Linked DNA regions of Homo sapiens: region 2 is linked to region 1. Evidence: promoter capture Hi-C in human tissues and cell types (Jung and others, 2019). All regions are on one chromosome and are shown on one strand. The core of a region is centred on a gene start or on the middle of the fragment in contact, and the rest is flanking DNA. Distances in the headings are between cores, read along the strand shown. Region 1 holds the start of PLEKHM3 (pleckstrin homology domain containing M3). Region 2 has its middle 32 kb from the start of FZD5.

Region 1 (3,552 bases), core at 912-3,411:
TGCAGCCAATCTCCAGAACTCTTTTCATTTTGCAAAACTGAAACTCTATACCCATTAAACCAGGAGTCCCCAACCCCCATGTCTGTAGACTAGTACGGGTCCATGGCCTGTTAGGAACTGGGCCACACAACAGTGAGCGATGGACCAGCCACGCATTGCTGTTTGAGCTCCGCCTCCTGTCAGATCGGCAGCAGCATTAGATTCTCATAGGAGCGCAAACCTTATTGTGAACTGTGCGTGCGAGGGATCTAGGTTGCACGCTCCTTATGAGAATCTAACTAATGCCTAATGATCTGAGGTGGAACAGTTTCATCCCGTAACTATCACCCCCCTACTCCCCGACCCCACACCACCCGCTCTGTGGAAAAATGGTCTTCCGGTCCCTGGTGCCAAAAACCACCAGGGGACCGCAGCATTAAACAACAAATCCCCATTGCCTGCCTCCCTCCAGGCCCTGGTAATCACCATTCCACTTTCAACACTGGCATATTTTTATTTTATATATTTATTAACAAACATGTATATAGCAATTACTATATGCCAGGTACGGTTCTAAGCCTTGAGCTCAGGAGTTCAAGACCAGCCTGGGCAACATGGCGAAACCCTGTCTCTACCAAATGTACAAAAATTAGCCAGGCGTGGTGGCTTGTGCCTATGGTTCCAGCCACAAGGGAGGCTGAGGTGGAAGGATCGCTTGAGTCCAGGAAGTCGAGACTGCAGTGAGCCATGATCACGCCACTGTACTCCAGCCCGAATGACAGAGTAAGACCCTGTCTCAAAATAAAATAAAATAAAATAAAATAAAATAAAATAAAATAACAATAATAAAAACCCTAATGAGGTCAATACTATTATTATTCCCATTCTACAGATTAGGAAACAGAAGCGCTAAGTAAACTGCCCAAGATTACACAACTAGGAAGTGACCAAGCAGGAATTCAAACTGAAGTAGTCTGGCTTTATAGTTTTTGCTATAAACCATGACATTGTAAAAATATTCATTGTAAAGAAAAACTCATCAGGAATTAGTATCATTTCTTCTATGTATATCTATCTATTGTAGGTGCAATTTAACCTAATATTCATCTCCTGTCTAAAAGACTATGTGACCAAGGTTACAAATGTCTACTGATATTTTTAGAGACTAGATATATAGCCCAGCTTTTGTTAAGGCATTTTCTTGAAGTCAGTCAGTCAAAAACTGCCTTGTATTTTAAGTATGCCAATTATAATTTACATGTAGTATTTTATAATAAAATACTTTATAAATACAAATCACAACTCACTACGATTACTTAAAATATAGAGAAAAAAATTCAGCTGTTTCTCTCTGGTCCCTTCCAAGGAAGAAAAAAGAAGAGAGAAATAAACTTCTAAATAAGTTTACAACAGCATGGCTCAATCTCAGTTTAACCTGGTAAATTCAAATTTGTCTTGCTTTGCAAGGTATACATCCAGACCAGTCTCAATTTGTCATCCAAATATATATCTCAGTAGTAATTTATTTTTGTTTAAGGGATGAGTGTGAGATTTTCTTATCTTGATTTTTTAGCTTAATAATTCTTTCCTACAAGACCAAACCATGCTTGTCATCAGTCATGTGGTGTCATTTACTATACATTAAAAACGGACAGAGTCGACAGAAAGAACAATCGTTTTCTGGAAGCCCCAGCCTGATGTAGGTTAAAAGCTCTGCTGGGGTTTGGTTTTATAATCCCCAGGCGGGGATGGCAGGGATACTAATAACGCACTCAACAAGATCACCTACTATTTCAACTACTTTCTCCTCCTATTACATACCTGATTCACAAAAATAAGCAGACAATGCATCATGTAATCTCCCCTCACCCATTAGCCATTGCAGTGTGGTACAATCTCCAGCACGTAATAAAAACCTGAGCATGCAAGAAACAGCAAAATCACTGCTATCCCTGGGAGCTGCTCGGATATTTACAATGCAGTCGTCCCCACCCCATCCCCCAAACTGGCCGGCCAGGCAGCACAGAAGCAGACGGATGCTCACCTGGGCCCCGGCTGCTACTCTCCATTCACCTGCGGGGCCTTCAGTCCGCTCCTGGAGGGGCTTGACTCCCGCAGCCTGCCGCCCGCCTCACGGTGACAGCCCGCCCGGGCGCTGACCATCCCGGCCCGGCTCTGTTTACAAGCGGCTTCTCGCGGTCCCACTCTGAAATGCTTCCGCCGGCGGCCCGGGCAGCCAGAGCCGGACACACAAGGTTCCAGGCCGCGAGGACGAGTCTTTCCTGCCCGAGGGACCCGGCAGCTAGGCAAGGCCTGACCGCACCCGCCAGGCCTCCTTATTTCTTTGCTTTCTTATATACAGTTCCTCTTGTACACATTGTGAAAGCAATGGCGTGTGTCGTGGAGTCTCCTCACTGCTCCACCCAACGCCAAAATGGGTGTTTGCGATTGGAAAATGTCACTTAGAACATGTCAGGATCGGGCTGGTTTTTAGCAGCTCCCTTGTCTAAGGGAATTAATTACTCAAATAAGTTCTTTCCAAAAGTGGGACTATTCTGGAGATTGCTTCTCATTTCCGGTTTTGGGGCTGCAGTGAAAATCCGTTTTCACTGTCCTTTCCTACGCAGGTTGAAAAGGGGTGGTTTTGAGGTGAGGTCTTCACCCCCACTTGCGGATTCCCAGCAAAATAGGGTGTGCGTGTGTGTGCACGCGGGCAGGACTGCCTGGTAAGACCGCCCACATCCCACCTGCAGTGACTGTGGTCGCTTTGCAGGGATATGCTGGTCTGATTGGACAGACCTTCCTTGCAGTTTCCTGTCTGTTTTCCATCATAGCACACTTCTTAGCCATTTTCTCACTTTATAAGTACACACTTATTTATCAGTTTTATTGGTTTTCCCACGCTCACCCATCTCACCTATAAACTCCCTGAGGGCAGGCACTATTTCAGTTTCACTCACCACCATCTAGTAGGCACCTAGCACAGGCCCAATGTATATATATCTGAATAAATGAATGAACAAAGGAATGATAAAAAAAAAAAAAGGTCAAAGGGGTCAGGGATGAAACAGAAATCTAAAACTCTGATTCCTCTTCCCACCTTCCCACCCTCCAGAAGATTAATAAGCAAATCTTTAAGCTTTGAGTTAAGAAAAAATTTCCTTTGGTTGATATTCAAAGTTTAAATAAGCTTTCTTTAAACCCTGCAATTTGAGGTACTTTTTTTTCTGTTTTGCTAGAGACAGGATCTCACTCTGTGCCCCGGCCAGAGTGCAGTCGCACGATCATAGCTCACTGCAGCCCTGAACTCCTGGGTTCAAGGGATCCCCCCAACTCAGCCTCCTGAGTAGCTAGGACTACAGGCACGCATCACCACAACGTGGCTAACTTCTTTTTTCTTTCTTTCTCTTTTTTTTTTTTTTGTAAAGGCAAGGTCTCCCTGTGTTGCCCAGGATGATCCTGAACTCCTGGCCTCAGGCAATCCTTCTTCCTTGCCTTCCAAAGTGCTGGGATTACAGGTGTGAGCCACCTCACCTGGCCAGAGGTACATTTTTTGTTTTGTTTTGTTTTAAT
Region 2 (3,201 bases), core at 632-3,131, 220 kb before region 1:
TAAGAAGAAATGATGTAATGTCTGGGATTGGCTTTGAGAAAAATAATACCAGAAAGGAAAAGTGACTAGGCATACAGATCAGTGGTTCTCAAAGTGGTTGCCAAAGGGCAGCATCAGCATCACCTGGGAACTTGTCTGAAATGCAAGTTCTCAGGTCCCACCTCAGACCTAGTGGATCAGAAATCCTGAGAAGGGGCTAAGCACAGTGGCTCACACCTGTAATCCCGATACTCTGGGAAGCCGAGGCGGGCAGATCATCTGAGGTCAGGAGTTCTAGACCAGCCTGACCAACATGGCGAAACCCCGTCTCTACTAAAAGTACAAAATTAGCTGGGCGTGGTGGTGCATGCCTGTAGTCCCAGCTACTAGGGAGGCTGAGGCAGGAGAATCACTTGAACCCAGGAGGCAGAGGTTGCAGTGAGCCGAGATTGTGCCACTACACTCCAGCCTGGTGACAGAGAGAGACCCTGTCTCAAAAAAAAAAAAAAAAAAAAAAATATTACCGGGCGTGGTGGCACGTGCCTGTAAATCCCAGCTACTGGGGAGGCTGAGGCAGGATAATCGCTTGAACCTGGGAGGTAGAGGTTGCAGTGAGCCAAGATCATGCCATTGCACTCCAGCCTGGGTGACGGAGCAAGACTCTTATCTCAAAAAAAAAAAAAAAAAAAAATCTGAGATGGGGTCCAGCGATCTGTGTTTCAACAAGCTCCCCCCAGCTGATTCTGATACACACTCAAGCTTGAGAAACACTGGTTTAGATGAAACAAGATTCACCATGAGTTGATAGTTGTTGAGGCTGGTGACAGGTACATGGGGTGGGGAGTTCACATGTGTTTTTGAAATTTTCTATAATAAAAAGTTAAAAGAAATGATTAAGCACATTGGAAGGGAGGAGTGTACATATAATGGGGGAAGGGTCATTGCTGGAGGACCTCTGGATATAGAGTGAGACAAAACAGATTCTTGTGCATGCATCTGTGTTGCCTTTTGAATTAAACATCCAGGATAATGGTTGCATTAGCTCCTGCCTTTAACAGGAAGCTCTGCTCCCCCACCCCGCCCCCCACCAACCCCAGTTCCTCAGGTTTCTCTTCATTTGGAGCCTAAGTTTTAACAGGATTAGATCCTGGAGCCTCAAATCTCTTAGAGAAGCAGCGATTTGAATTTTCAGCTTCCACCTGAAACTGTGTCACTGTAAAATATGCCACCCACTAGACCTGCTTTATCAGCTGCAGACATGATGCAATTAACTAATTTTCTGCAACCTCTCACCACACAAGCCGTGGAACTTCTAGTCCATTGTGTGGCTCGTTTACTTAGCAGATAGGGTCTAAGAGCCTGTAACTATTTACCTCCCTCTAGAGGGGCTGTCCCAGACAGGTGAATTCATTAGTTGGTGTTTGTAAAGCAGCAGGAAAACCAAAAAAGCATTAGGCAAGTTTTTATTTTTATTTCTTTATTTGGCCTGAACGCCACTCAAGCGATGTCCTGTCCTGTCCTGCGTTGTCAGTTTGCCTCCCTTCATATCCACCCCCTCTTCTCTCTAGCCCATTTTTCTCTTATTCAGAAATGAGAGATGCCCACAACTGGAAAACTCTTCCCATTTTGTCCCAGAGGATGCAAAGTTCTGCCTGCCCATCACATGGGATCAGCGATCTTTAGGTTTTTTCATTTAAATGCCAAGGCATCTCTGCTTCCTGTTTCAGGTGTCCTTCTGCCCCATCTTTGAGCAGTGGTCTTTTCTTTCTTTTCTTCTTTCCCCACTTCCATTTTCTCTCCTCTCTCTTTTTTTTTTGAGACAAAGTCTCGCTCTGTTGCCCAGGATGGAGTGCAATGGCACCATCTCGGCTCATTGCAACCTCCACCTCCTGGGTTCAAGTGATTCTCCTGCCTCAGCCTCCTGAGTAACTGGGGTTACAGGCAGGCACCAAAACGCTAGGCTAATTTTTGTATTTTTAGTAGAGACAGGGCTTCACCATGTTGGCCAGGCTGGTCTCGAGCCCCCCGACCTCAGATGATCCACCTGCCTCAGCCTCCCAAAGTGTTGGGATTACAGGTGTGAGTCACCACGCCCGGCCTCACTTGGTTGTTTTTTTTTTTTTTTTTGAGACGGAGCTTCACTCTTGTTGCCCAGGCTGGAGTTCAATGGCGCAATCTCGTCTCACTGCAACCTCCACCTTCCAGGTTCAAGCAATTCTCCTGCCTCAGCCTCCCAAGTAGCTGGGATTACAGGCATGTACCACACCCCTGGCTAATTTTTTGTATTTTTAGTAGAGACAGTGTTTCACCATTTTGGCCAGGCTGGTTTCGAACTCTTGACCTCAGGTGACCCACCCGCCTCAGCCTCCCAAAGTGCTGAGATTACAGGCATGAGCCACTGAGCCCCAGCTCCCTTGTATTTTTCATAGAAAAGGCACAAGGAAGAAGTTCAATGATGAGAAGGAAGAAAGAATATTCCTCAAGTGTAATTAAAGGTAGGAAAAATGACAGTTCTTTTGGAATCCAAGTTTGAAAATATTTCTTTTTAATGTGGTAGGATAAAACAAAGCATAACAGTAAATTGACCGTTTAACCATTGTTAGGTGATAGTTCAGTGGCTAAGTACATTCACACTGCTGTGCAACCGTCGTCATCAGCACTTCCAGAACGTTTTCGTCATCCCATACTGAACTCTGTACTCATTAAACGTGGAATCCCCATTTCCCCTCCCCACCCCTGGCAATCACCACTCACTTTCTATTACATCTCTGTGAATTTGACTACTCTAGGTACCTCATATAACTGGAAACCTACAGTATTTGTTTTTTTGTGTCTAGCTTAGTTTAGCATAATGTCTTCAAGGTTCATTCCTATTGTAGCATATGTCCAAATTTCATTCCTTTTTAAGGCTGAATAATATATATATATTATAATTATATATGATGTATAATGTATACACATCATACATATATGTATGCATAATATATACACAACATACATATATGTATGCATAATATATACACAACATACATATATGCATACATAATATATATACACCATATTTTGTTTATCCATTCATCTGTTGATGAACATTTGGGTTATTTCTTTTTTTTTTTTGAGACAGAGTTTTGTGCTCTTGTTGCCCAGGTTGGACTGCAATGGCACGATCTCGGCTCACCGCAACCTCTGCCTCGTGGGTTCAAGCGATTCTCCTGCCTCAGC

Evidence for each region. The method cuts DNA at HindIII sites, captures the fragments that hold promoters and counts their contacts. A contact is called where the count stands out against the background at its distance.
Region 2: a fragment that was not itself captured here is called in contact with the fragment with the promoter of PLEKHM3 in region 1 in 1 of the 25 tissues and cell types used here (H1 embryonic stem cells).

What each region holds. Positions count from the first base shown.
Region 1 is chr2:208,023,366-208,026,917 of GRCh38, forward strand. It overlaps PLEKHM3 (pleckstrin homology domain containing M3), which reads right to left and starts at 2,162. Exons shown (of 8, transcript NM_001080475.3): 1 at 2,024-2,162. The HindIII fragment of the contact is 4,894 bases long and covers 1-3,473 here.
Region 2 is chr2:207,800,198-207,803,398 of GRCh38, forward strand. No RefSeq gene overlaps it. Among named protein-coding and RNA genes, the nearest start is that of FZD5, 32 kb to the left of the region's middle. RefSeq lists enhancers at 1,498-1,999, 2,000-2,499. The HindIII fragment of the contact is 9,526 bases long and covers 1-3,201 here.